Regions from separate parts of the Homo sapiens genome. Here regions 2, 3 and 4 are each linked to region 1. The links are contacts of gene promoters, found by promoter capture Hi-C in blood cells and fetal thymus (Javierre and others, 2016). All regions are on one chromosome and are shown on one strand. The core of a region is centred on a gene start or on the middle of the fragment in contact, and the rest is flanking DNA. Distances in the headings are between cores, read along the strand shown.

Region 1 (2,875 bases), core at 376-2,875:
ACAGGTTTAGGAAGGTTGAGTAACTTGCCCAAATGTAAAAGGGGTAGAAACAGGCTCTATGTCTGATTCTAAAAAGGGATGCCTTTAAAAATAAGGGGGAAAAAACCCTGTAACACGTTGATACTCTTTAAATGAGAATAATTTTAACAAGGGCAATGACAGAGAATGGAAAGGAAGGAAGAGATTTCAGCAGAGTCAGAAGGATGTGGCAACTGAAAACAGCATTGGGACAAGGGATAAGAAAAAGTCAAAGTTTCTGGCCTGAGTAACAGTATAAGATGTGAACTCAGATTTGGAAAGGGAGACAGGAAATTAAGTTTTGGACTTATGTTTGAAATGACAGCAAAACATTCATATAAGAGGAAGTGGTTCACTTTATCCAACAAGTGTAAAGATCACATGGGGAAATAGAAGTCACCTGCAACACAGGCAGAACTGGAAGCTTCGCTGGCCAGGTCCATGTTAAACTCTGACCATTCTCTGGGGCTGTCCAGCCTTTGCACAGGCGGCGCGTTTGTCTTCAGTTTTCAGGTTTCCCCGTCCTATTTCTTATCTCCCAGTGCCTCTGGCCTTTTCTGTGTCTCCCTCCAGAATGAGCTGGAGCTCTCTTCATCTTGACCTTTGTGTAGTCTCTGAGGTCTGAGGCCATCACTATGTCTGACCCTCAAAAAATATTTGTTGACTGACTGGCTTATTCCTGTTGTTGCCCTGGAAAAGAATTACCCTGCCCGATTAAGTCACAGTTTCTTCCTTCTTAGGGCAGCGTAGTTAACAACCTCAACACCAGGAAATTGTCTTCCTCATCACATACCAGGGTATTATTCATGCAGTTTACTCACTGTAAAGAGTTCCCTTGAAATAAAGCTAACAATTAGTCAAAGATTTACACATTTCCTAGGGTCAGTCAACTTTTTAACAAAGCCAACTTTTAGTAGTGGTGGCGGTGGCGGGGGGGAGCCCTTCTTTGCTTTTTCTGTTCCTGAAATACAAAAGTGATGGTAAATGCTTCAGAATTTCTCTATGAGAGGGTCTCAGGCACTGCACTCACGCTGGAGTTGGGGGTGGCTGGTCCTTTTCTTGAACCAGGTTTTGCAGAGAATTGGTCCTAGTAAAGAGTATTTGTGTGGGAGGAGTTTGGCTTGCTGGCGGGGAGTATTTGGATAATACTGGAAGAGCCTCAAATGCATCTCTTGCCTCCTTTTGAATAAGATACTTTTGAGGTCCACCCACCTGCCAAATTCCATTCTATTTTCTTCCCACAGGGAGTTTCCCTGATTGGGAAGGGCCTGTATTTCCCGCGAGCGTTAGGAGATGTGCAGGTCTATTCATTGGGGGAGCCCAATTCCCGGGAGGATTTAGGGATCACGGGAGGGCCGGGGCGTTCTCCTGGTGGGGATTTTAAGGCCGCTCAGAGCCACGACTGGGAGCTACCCTTAGCCAGCGCCCCAAGCCGGGAGTACGGTTCTCTGCAGGGTAGCCCGGCTCGGGGGTGGCGAAGGCGGTGAATGGAGACCCGGGGGGGGCGGGGGCGGGGCCGCGGCGGGCGGGGCGGGGCGGGGCGAGTCGGGCCGAGGCCCGGGGGCGGGGCCAGGCGCGCGGCTGGCCTGGGCCTAGGCCGCTGCTGGGCTCCGCCTCGCCCGGCTACGCAGGCGGCAGGGCTGCGGCACGGGCCGGGCGGCACCATGGCGGCGGCGGCGCCTGCTGCTGCGGCGGCTTCTTCCGAGGCGCCAGCGGCGAGTGCGACTGCAGAGCCCGAGGCCGGGGACCAGGACAGTCGCGAGGTTCGAGTGTTGCAGAGCCTGCGGGGCAAGATCTGTAAGCGGGGGCTGGGCTGAGGGGACGCCCTGGCGGCGCTGGGCGCGAGGCTGAGGGGGCGGCGGGTTCGCGGCGGTGGCGGCGCCGAGCTGCGCTGGGATCGCGGGCCCGGGAGGGGGCCTGGGCCGGGCGCGGTTGAGGCTGGAAGGGGGTGTGTTGGGGGGCGGCGTCGCCTCGACGGGGCGGCGTGGGCCGGGGCTGCTGCTCTCCGGAGGGAGTGGGAGCTGGAGATGGGCCTGGGGTGGGAGAGCCCGGGCTGCGCCGGCGTGAGGGGCTCGGTCGTGGGGAGCGGCCTGGACGCGGGGACGCTGGAGTCCGGGGCGCGGCCGGGGGCGCGGTCCGGGGGCGTGAGGAGCTTCCGGCCGCCCTCAGACTCAGGCCTTCGCGCGGCTGCGGGCGCTGGGGAGTGGCCCCGCGGTGGGAGCCGAGCAGTAATTATACGGAGGCGCGGCCCGAGGAGGTGGCGGGCTGGGAAGTGGGGCTGGCCCGAGGGGAGGGGGCTGTTCGTTTCCTGGGCTCGGCGAGCCTGGGAGAGGTTGAAAAAGGCGCCCTGAGCTGCAGGAAACGGGCCGCCCTGGGGCCCGAGTGGCTACCGCGCGGTCTGTTCGCGGGTGAGCGCCCCGGGAGGAGCTCGGCGGGACACCTGTACTTGCCCCACCTCGCTGCGGCCGGGACTTGAATCGAGGGACGGCGTGACAGGCGGGACTAAAGGCAGGATGTAGTGGCTTCCTGTGAGCAGGTCTCAAAACACAATCACCCAGCCCGCACTCAGCCCGCTTAATTCCCTTCCTTCTCATGCGTGTAATTGCTACTTTAGTGAGCGAGCCTACCAGTTGACTAAATACGAAATTTTGCTCAGAGTTGTCCGAGCATTACTGTGGACAGATTATTTGAGTTCTGTCATTTGAACATTTTAGTTTTAAAAACGACCCTTTGGTGTCAGGTTGCCATTTTTTTTTTCACAGTGGTTTATTTAGATGAAGTGCTTTTTGTTTTCTGTTTGTAAGAGAGATCAATAACATTTATTTTTGCATTTGTCGAAAATTAGCATTATTTTCTT
Region 2 (2,875 bases), core at 249-2,748, 1.5 Mb after region 1:
GAGAAACATCATAACTCGTTTTCTACTTGCTTTCTCTAATCCGACTGTTTATGCCATTTGGTGAACGATGTACACCAAAATAATTAATTCATAATTAGTAATGGTCTTAACAGACATCGTTTAGTTACATAGAAACTTTGGTGAGGGGCCAGTTTCGGCTTCTTTACAAGGTATTGTGTCAGTTTTTTTTCCCCCTCCTCAGTACATTTTCTCGTCTCCCTCTCTTTGGGGGCGAGCTCTACCAACTCTTCTCAACAGACTCCTGACAAGAACATACCGTTAGGGAGCTATTACTAAAGCTAGCTACGTTCATAACAAGTCGTGCATAAGCCTCACAATTTTTGTTTCTTCTCAAAGTAATATTTTAAGTATTCCCTACTTGAGGTCTTGGATACATTGAAAACATTTCAATGTCTGTGTTCAGGCTTCCTTCTAAAATAGTGCTTCTCATGACTGAATGTATGGCTGTTCTCAATAAATAAATTATTGGATTATCCAGTAATCTTTTCTGTTTATATTGCCTTAGATTATAATCTCTTGATGCTATTAGCAGATTTCTTACTGATGTCTGTGAAAGGAATCAGAATATCTTAACTAATTTGGAGGCTGCATAATGTAGTGGGAAGATTATGAATTTTGTTAACAAGAGATTTGGGTTCAAATCCTGACTTGGTAATTAATTATATTTGCGATAATAAGGCAGATTGCTTAAACTCTGGAGCCTCAATTCCCTCATTTGTAATGTAGATATAATTCTTTTTTTACATGGTTGATATAAGGATCAAATGAGATAATGTCTATGAAGTACATAATAAATCTTAATTTCTTTCCCCTCTTTTTGTTTTTAGAGGAAATCAAAAGTTCTTAGCTTTCAAAATGTCAGGATAAATTTTAATCCTGTGATTTGGAATCTAAGTCATCAGCTGTCATAATGACTGCCCAGATAGCTGCTTTTTATTTATTTTATTTCTTTTTTTTTTTTTTTTTTTTTTTTGTGAAAGAGTTTCGCTCTGTCGCCCAGGCTGGAGTGCTGGAGTGCAGTGGCACAATCTCGGCTCATTGCAACCTCCGCCTCCCGGGTTCAAGTGATTCTCCTGCCTCAGCCTCCCTAGTAGCTGGGACTACAGGCGCCCGCCAGTACGCCCGGCTAATTTTTTGTATTTTAGTAGAGACGGGGTTTCACCATGTTGGCCAGGATGGTCTCGATCTCTTGACCTCGTGATCCACCCGCCTCAGCCTCCCAAAGTGATGGGATTACAGGCGTGAGCCACCGTGCCCCGCCCTGCTTCCCTGCTTTTTATTTCTAACACATAATTTATTAGAGAAATTGTAAGATCATTTTGGCTAATACTACAGTATTTAGAATTTCTAGCCTTTGATATCTGGTTTGATTTCCTTTCCTCTGGAAAGAACAGATGAGTGGCTTATATTTTACAATACAGATGGAGTGAACAGATACTTCTGTTTCATGATTCGTCGTTTTCTTTGGTAGTTACATTCCCGTTAATATGGATAGGGATGCTTATTATATTTCTAGACATTGGGAAAATGTTAATTTTAAATGTACAATATGGCAAAATTATTAACATTTCTTAATTATAAAAAGATTAAATTAGATAACCTCTACAGGTCTTCTAGTTGGGGTGTTTTTTTTTTTTTTTTTTTTTTTTTTTTGAGAGGGAGTCTTGCCTTGTCGCCCAGGCTGGAGTGCAGTGGTGCAATCTCAGCTCACTGCAACCTCTGCCTCCTGGGTTCAAGCAATTCTTCTGCCTCAGCCTCCCGAGTAGCTGGGACTACAGGCGCCTGGCCAATTTTTGTATTTTTAGTAGAGATGGGGTTTCATCTGTTGGCCTCTTGACCTTGTGACCCCCCCCCCCCGCCTCGGCCTCCCAAAGTGCGGGGATTATAGGCGTGAGCCACCGTGCCTGGCTTCTAGTTTTAAAATGATACTTTATGTATGTGTATGTACTTGAATGACTTACCTTTATTCATAATTGTCCCTAATGAAGAGACCCCTGTGCACTTTAATTTTCTGTGTAATTTTGTTGTGCTTTGCATTTTAGAGCCTGGCAGATGTAGACATTTAACAAATGTTCTAGAAATGAGCTAAAATTTTCCTGTGCATTTGTTTGTTTATCACTAGTCTAAAATATTGCTTGGTTGGGGAGGGGTGTTGATGTTATGTAGTAGCTTTCATTTTGAGAGGAGAGAGAGAGAGCCTGTAATTGTTTACTTATAAAATTGTTAAGCATATTTCCTTAGAATTTAATTTATAAAAAAATTACTGTTTTTGACTGTCAATTGTTTGCTTACTCAGCAAAATTAGGATATGAAGAAAATGTAGTATTTTCTTTCCTTCTGCCATCTCCTGTGCTGGTAATATTGCTAATGTAATGTAATTGTGTGCCCTGCTATTTCACTCTGTGACTATGGCTTTTTTTTTTTTTTTCTTTTTTGCCGTATCGCCAAAAATTGAGTTAGGTGAATGGATAAAACAAAATACTACAGGCTTCCTTGGACATCCAGTGCTGAATTGCTTTGGGAACTGTTTTGATTGACTGCCTTTGCTGATTAACAAAAAGTATCACTTTTAAGAAATAAGTAAACTGAGGACCTGTTCAAGGCTTGTGAACCTTAGGTATTTATTACTGCCAGTTTTCATTTTTTGTGGTACCTGAAAGTTTATGAAAAAGTCCAAACAAAATACAAACCTTGAAAATCAGGCTTTCAAACAGTTTGCCAATTTTAAACTGAATCTTTATTATGGTTTATGGTTGTAACCTTATCTTAAAATGTAAGGTAGTTTTTTTGGTAGAAGGTTTTGTTTTGGTCTGGAAGGTAGAACTGAACTTCCTTCCATTTTCTCGATTGATAA
Region 3 (2,875 bases), core at 152-2,651, 1.2 Mb after region 1:
GCCAAGATCACGCCATTGCACTCCAGCCTGGGCAACAAGAGCAAAACTCTGTCTCAAGAAAAAACAAAAAAACATGAATAGACAATTCTCAAAAGAAGATACACAAATGGCCAACAAACATATGAAAAAATGCTCAAGATCACTAATGATCAGGGAATTCCAAGTCAAAACTGCTATGCCGTATGTACCACCCTACTTCCGCAAGAATGGCCATAATCAAAAAAATCAAAAAATAATAGCTGTTGGTGTGGATGCGGTGAAAAGGGAACACTTCTACATTACTGGTGGGACTGTAAACTAGTACACCACTATGGAAAACAGTGTGGAGATTCCTTAGAGAACTAAAAGTAGAACTACCATTTGATCCAGTAATCCCACTACTGGGTATCTACCCAGAGGAAAAGAAGTCATTACACGAAAAAGATACTTGCCCATGCATATTTATAGCAGCACAATTCGCAATTGCAAAAATGTGGAGCCAACCCAAATGCCCATGAATCAATGAGTGGATAAAGAAACTGTGATATATATATATATATATATATATGTGGTATATATATATGTGATATATATATAATGATGGAATACTACTCAGCCATAAAAAGGAATGAATAAATGGCATTCGCAGAAACCTGGATGGGACTGGAGACTATTATTCTTATTCTAAATGAAGTAACTCAGGAATGGAAAACCAAACATCGTATGTTCTCACTCACAAGTGAGAGCTAAGCTTTGAGGATGCAAAGGCATAGGAATGACACAATGGACTTTCGGGACTCGGGGAAAGGTTGGGAAGGGGGAGAGGGATAAAAGACTACAAAATTAGGTTCAGTGTATACTGCTCGATGATGGGTACATCAAAATCTCACAAATCATCACTAAAGAACTTACTCATGTAACCAAACACCACCTGTTCCTCAAAAACCTATGGAAATAATATGGAAATAAAAATTTATATATTTGTATAAATTATTTAAACATAATATAATTATATATCTATATATCCTTTATAAATGAGAGTTCATTTCCAGCCTAAAATGAGTACAACATACAAACCCACGAGTCTGGCTCTCCATTGTGCTTTAAAGCATAGTGCACCAGAATATGAAATAGCTGGACAATTCCACAAAGGATTTCGACTAAACATTAAGTCGTCAGAGACTCAATTAACATACTGCTCCATATTTGCTTAATTACCTTAAACCAGTACCCTGGGTGTGGAAAGGGACGATTGAGCGAAGTCTTCCTCAGACTGCGGTTCACCTCACCAGAGCGAAGGAAGCTGCAGCGGGCTCCAGGAGCCCAGTGCGTCCCCACCGCAGGCCCCACCCACCCACGCCCCGCTTGCCGCAGGCCCCGCCCACCCAAGCCCGCCCTTGCCGCAGGCTCCTCCCTAGTGTCGTCGCTACAGAGGAGCAGAGGATGACGTGAGGACAGAGTCGCGAACATCTCCTCGGAGCGCAGCTGGGCCAGCGGTTCCCACAGCCCTGGAGCCCAACGTGCGCAGAAGCGCCTCTTGGAGCTCCTCTCCCACAGATCTCTCGTCCTCTTCCTGGGCTAGGCCGCCCCAGGCGCGGCCCCTGCGACTCCTGGCACGGCCCCGTGCTCGGCTGCCGCCCTGGCGCGCGCCACACTGTCGTCCCCGGACGGGCGCGGACCGGCTCGGCCGGGGCGCCGGCGGCTGGGGAGGGGTCGCTGGCCCCGGGGCCGCGCATGCGCCGCCACCAACTTGGGGCTGTCAGTGGAGGGCGAGTGCTGGTTCTCAGGGGAGGCGACGCCCTTCGGGGCCAACGGGCCTCGAGCCGAGGCAGCAGTGGGAACGACTCATCCTTTTTCCAGCCCTGGGGCGTGGCTGGGGTCGGGGTCGGGGTCGGGGCCGGTGGGGGCCCCGCCCCCGTCTCCTGGCCTGCCCCCTTCATGGGCCGCGATGATGGCGGCCCTGTACCCGAGCACGGACCTCTCGGGCGCCTCCTCCTCCTCCCTGCCTTCCTCTCCATCCTCTTCCTCGCCGAACGAGGTGATGGCGCTGAAGGATGTGCGGGAGGTGAAGGAGGAGAATACGCTGAATGAGAAGCTTTTCTTGCTGGCGTGCGACAAGGGTGAGAGTTAGGCCCCTTTCTCCTCTGGACGCCCCTGTCCTCCAGACCTTTAGTCCTCTCCCCCGCCTCAACTTATATCGGGGCATTCCCTCTGTCTCAGGCGCCGAGTGTCTTCCCGCCTCGCCTGCTGCCTCAGGCGGTCTTCTCCTCACCGCCTCTGCCCTGTGAGTGTGGAGCTGGCGGGAGAGTGGAGCTGGGGCTGCGCCCTCGGAGCGCTGCACCGTCGGGGGTGGCTCTGGCCTTGGGGTCCGGGGTTTAGGTAGCGCCTTGGGAGCCCCGACCCCAGCGTTTTAGCGCCGCCCTTGCTACTGACCGCATGAATGACCTGGTCTTCTCTCTGGCTCGCAGTTCATTCCTTCCGGGAGTCGAGAGGCTAGTTTCCGACACTCCAGTCGGAAAATTCCGTCACCTTACCTTAGGATGCCTCGTATGGAGGGTTCTCATCACCTGGTTTTTGTTTTTCTTAAAAACAAAACCAGACCCTCTATTATTTAGCTTCACCTGACCAGTGCTTTAGCCAGTGACTGTTGACTGGCATTAATAACGGAATATCCTAGGTGGAGATACATGAAGTAAGGACGGGACGGAAGAAATTCTGCCTTAGTTGCCAAAACTTTCTCTGGATTTACGGAACGCCTTTGATTGTTAGTGCTTTTTATTGGAGAGAAAGATTTATTGCTCCCAGATCTTTCTTTGGGAGATAAAGATAGTGAAAAATAATTACAGGAATTACAAGGCAAAAATATGTGGAATATATTTAGCGCGTTATCCTTTTT
Region 4 (2,875 bases), core at 269-2,768, 1.1 Mb after region 1:
GGTGATGAAGTCAGAGGCAGGCTGAGCCAGATTATGTAGAACCTTAGAGGCCTTGGTAAGGAGTTTGGATTTTATACTGATTTTAAGTGTGCTGGAATGTCAAAGGACGGTTTTGTGCAGGGGAACTTACAATATGACTAATAGATGAAAAATCACTTTACTGAGTGGAAAATCTATTATAAGTAGGTAAAAGTAGAAATGGAAAGATCAACTAAGGTTACTGTAATAGTTCAGGTAAGAAATTCTGGTGGTAGCAGTGGAGACAGTGAGAAGTGTTAGATTCTAGATGTATCTTAAACATATGGTTGTCAGAACTAACTTATGGATTATTAAGCGACAAGGGAAAAAAACCAAGGATGACTCCTAGGCTTTTGGTTGGCATATTTACGATAACACAGGAGAAGGAACAAATTCAAGGGCGCAGTAAATCAGGCGTTCTGCTTTGGATATGTTAATTTTCACTTCCCAGTGTGGATGTTGAGTAAGCAACCTAATATATATCTCCGATCTAGAAATATAAATTTGGGAGTTATCAGCATATGGATGACATTTAAAGCCATGAGATTAGGTAAGATTACTTGGGAAGACAGCACAGATTAAAAGAGGGCCAAGGACATAGACTGAAAGCACATGTGAAAATAGTTAAGAATGACTTCTAGATTTCCAGTTTGGAGAACTAAGTGAATATGGTGCCATGTACTGAGATATCTCTACTTCAATGAATAAGAGAAAAATAATTTTTTTAATTTAAAAAAAGAAAGCTTGTGAAAGCTAGGACATGTGGGGAATTTGTATTGGATATTCTGAACCTTAACTACACATAGGACACTCAGTGAAACTACCAGTATACAGTAAATATACAATTCTATAGAAGACATGATTTGGAGAAACATATTAGTAGTCATCAAATAGCAGATTATAGTTGAAGGCAGGAGAGTGGAAAGGTCATTTAGCAAGATTATGCAGAGCAGACTGCTAATAGCAAAAAAACAATAGGACAAAATTTATCTGAGGGACTGAGGAAGAGCAGCCCATAAATTAGAACACTAATATCTTTTTTTTTCAGTAGTCTAATTGCCATAGTCAATTAAGAGGAAACATTTTGGAAGAAAAGGCCTTGAAAGCTTGAATCTGAAACCTAGCTCTGTTATCTGCTAGCTGTGCCTTTGGTTCTTCAACTTCTCTGTCCCTTTTTCTTAAACAGTGGTAACACTTGTTTCATTCTATGTCATGGATATACTATGAAAATTGATTAGCTTTTTTGATTCAAGTAGTTGTAATGAAAAAGCCATGACAATTAAAAACTATTAGACAACTCTCTGTGGGTCAGTTTTTCTATTCTTTCTCTTGGAATAGCTACAAATAAATGAAAGGTAACATAAACTCTACTGATGAAACCGACTATATATAATCCAAGAACCAATTATTTTTATTAACAGGACTCACGGAGGAAGACAGAAGAGGGAAGAGAAGTATTAACCAGTTAATTCTACTTTAAAGCAAAGTGGCAAAAATATACTCAGCTTCACAATGAGCCTGAAAGATGAAATTTGTAAACCAACTTCCTACAATGATCACTTTTCTTCCTCTTCTTTTAGAGAGGTAGAGGTTATTTTATAAACTAAACACAAAGTATACTTGCCACAGATAAGTGGAAAAAATTCACACACTCAAAAATAGTGATGCAGTTACGACAAGAATGGTCCCTTCATTTATCCTTTTATTCATATATTGAGACTAGATTATTTGGATGGCCAACCAGTGGAAATGAACACAACTGCGCTGCAAAAAGAAAGAGAAGTAGCTATCCCATTGGCTTAATGTCAGCTTTGACTTTGTGTGGAAAGTTTTCAAACAGTTTAAGAAATTGGGAAGCAGTTATTCCAAATGATAATTTAACTGCGGTAGCAGCACAAGCTTATTTATTTCTTGTTCGCAGTAGTGTAGAATTAAAACAAACAAAGCAAAACAAGCTCTACCGAGTCTTTAGGCCTGGTTCAGGGAAGCCTGCCTGTGTATTGAAGAGGTGTGAGAGCCATCAACACCTCTCCCTCCTTGTGGTAAGATACTGGTTTTCATGAGGTTTACAGACAACATGCATTTGCAAATGAAATATTAAATTGTCTCCAAATTTTGGCAACACTCTGTGCACGCTGAGATTTTGTGGACCCAGGGGTCTATCTCTCCAATTTCTGACTAAAATAACGGATCGGGAACTGGACGATCAATACGAGGGAGGTCACATCTTCAGTATGTACTATGACTTCACTTCAAAGAAAAAAACTGCCTTTTCCAGCAAGTGATGTCACTTGCAGAAAATGAGAAGCGGTGATTTTCTTTCAAGGGCAGTTTGGGGACAAAATGTAAGGCTAAAAACCAATTCCTCCACGAGTGATCACAAAGAACAGAAACTGATGGGTCAAGTCCCTCGTCTAAGGAAAAAGATTTTCGAGAAGAAAATGAGTGTAGAAAAGTGACCAGAAAGCGATCAGCAGGGACTCTTCCTCCAGCTGCAGGAAGCAAACTCTCGATCGGGGTGAGTGGTAAACCAGGGCCGGCAGACGCCTCTCTCCCCCACGGACCGGCTTCCCGCAGGTTTGTGGCGACTGCCCCATGTGCTATCAACGGGCACTCTGAGGGAGAAGCGCCCAAATCAGCCACGGAGCATCTCCACAAGGGCCGCAGCGGGGGCTTAGGGGATCCCAGCCATAGCGCAGCAGGGGAGGGGAGAGCACGTGAAACCCAAGCCGGAATCAGCGGAGGAGGATGCAGGACCCAGGCTGGGCCTAGCCCTACCTGCCCAGCTCCCGCAGGGCGGGGATCATGGAAGCCAGCTCCAGGCCATGTTCCCCCATGCTGAGGCTGCGAGGCACTA

Evidence for each region. Contacts are between HindIII fragments. The CHiCAGO score rates a contact against its expected background, and 5 or more counts as called.
Region 2: a contact is called between a fragment that was not itself captured here and the fragment with the promoter of RASA2 in region 1, in 1 of 17 cell types (fetal thymus). The highest score is 5.3, in fetal thymus.
Region 3: the fragment with the promoter of TRPC1 here is called in contact with the fragment with the promoter of RASA2 in region 1 in 1 of 17 cell types (fetal thymus); the score reaches 11.6 in fetal thymus.
Region 4: a fragment that was not itself captured here is called in contact with the fragment with the promoter of RASA2 in region 1 in 2 of 17 cell types (activated CD4 T cells and total B cells); the score reaches 5.6 in activated CD4 T cells.

What each region holds. Positions count from the first base shown.
Region 1 is chr3:141,485,402-141,488,276 of GRCh38, forward strand. RASA2 (RAS p21 protein activator 2) reads left to right here and starts at 1,626. Exons shown (of 24, transcript NM_006506.5): 1 at 1,626-1,815. The coding sequence starts at 1,683. RefSeq lists a silencer at 1,535-2,414. The HindIII fragment of the contact is 5,296 bases long and covers 441-2,875 here.
Region 2 is chr3:143,002,708-143,005,582 of GRCh38, forward strand. The region is part of intron 1 of U2SURP (U2 snRNP associated SURP domain containing); the gene reads left to right. Among named protein-coding and RNA genes, the nearest start is that of U2SURP, 2.6 kb to the left of the region's middle. The HindIII fragment of the contact is 3,034 bases long and covers 1-2,875 here.
Region 3 is chr3:142,722,633-142,725,507 of GRCh38, forward strand. TRPC1 (transient receptor potential cation channel subfamily C member 1) reads left to right here and starts at 1,402. Exons shown (of 13, transcript NM_001251845.2): 1 at 1,402-2,099. The coding sequence starts at 1,928. RefSeq lists a silencer at 1,646-1,695 and an enhancer at 1,954-2,820. The HindIII fragment of the contact is 1,344 bases long and covers 729-2,072 here.
Region 4 is chr3:142,575,850-142,578,724 of GRCh38, forward strand. It overlaps ATR (ATR checkpoint kinase), which reads right to left. Exons shown (of 47, transcript NM_001184.4): 1 at 2,797-2,875. The coding sequence starts at 2,855. Among named protein-coding and RNA genes, the nearest start is that of ATR, 1.4 kb to the right of the region's middle. RefSeq lists an enhancer at 2,675-2,834. The HindIII fragment of the contact is 793 bases long and covers 1,123-1,915 here.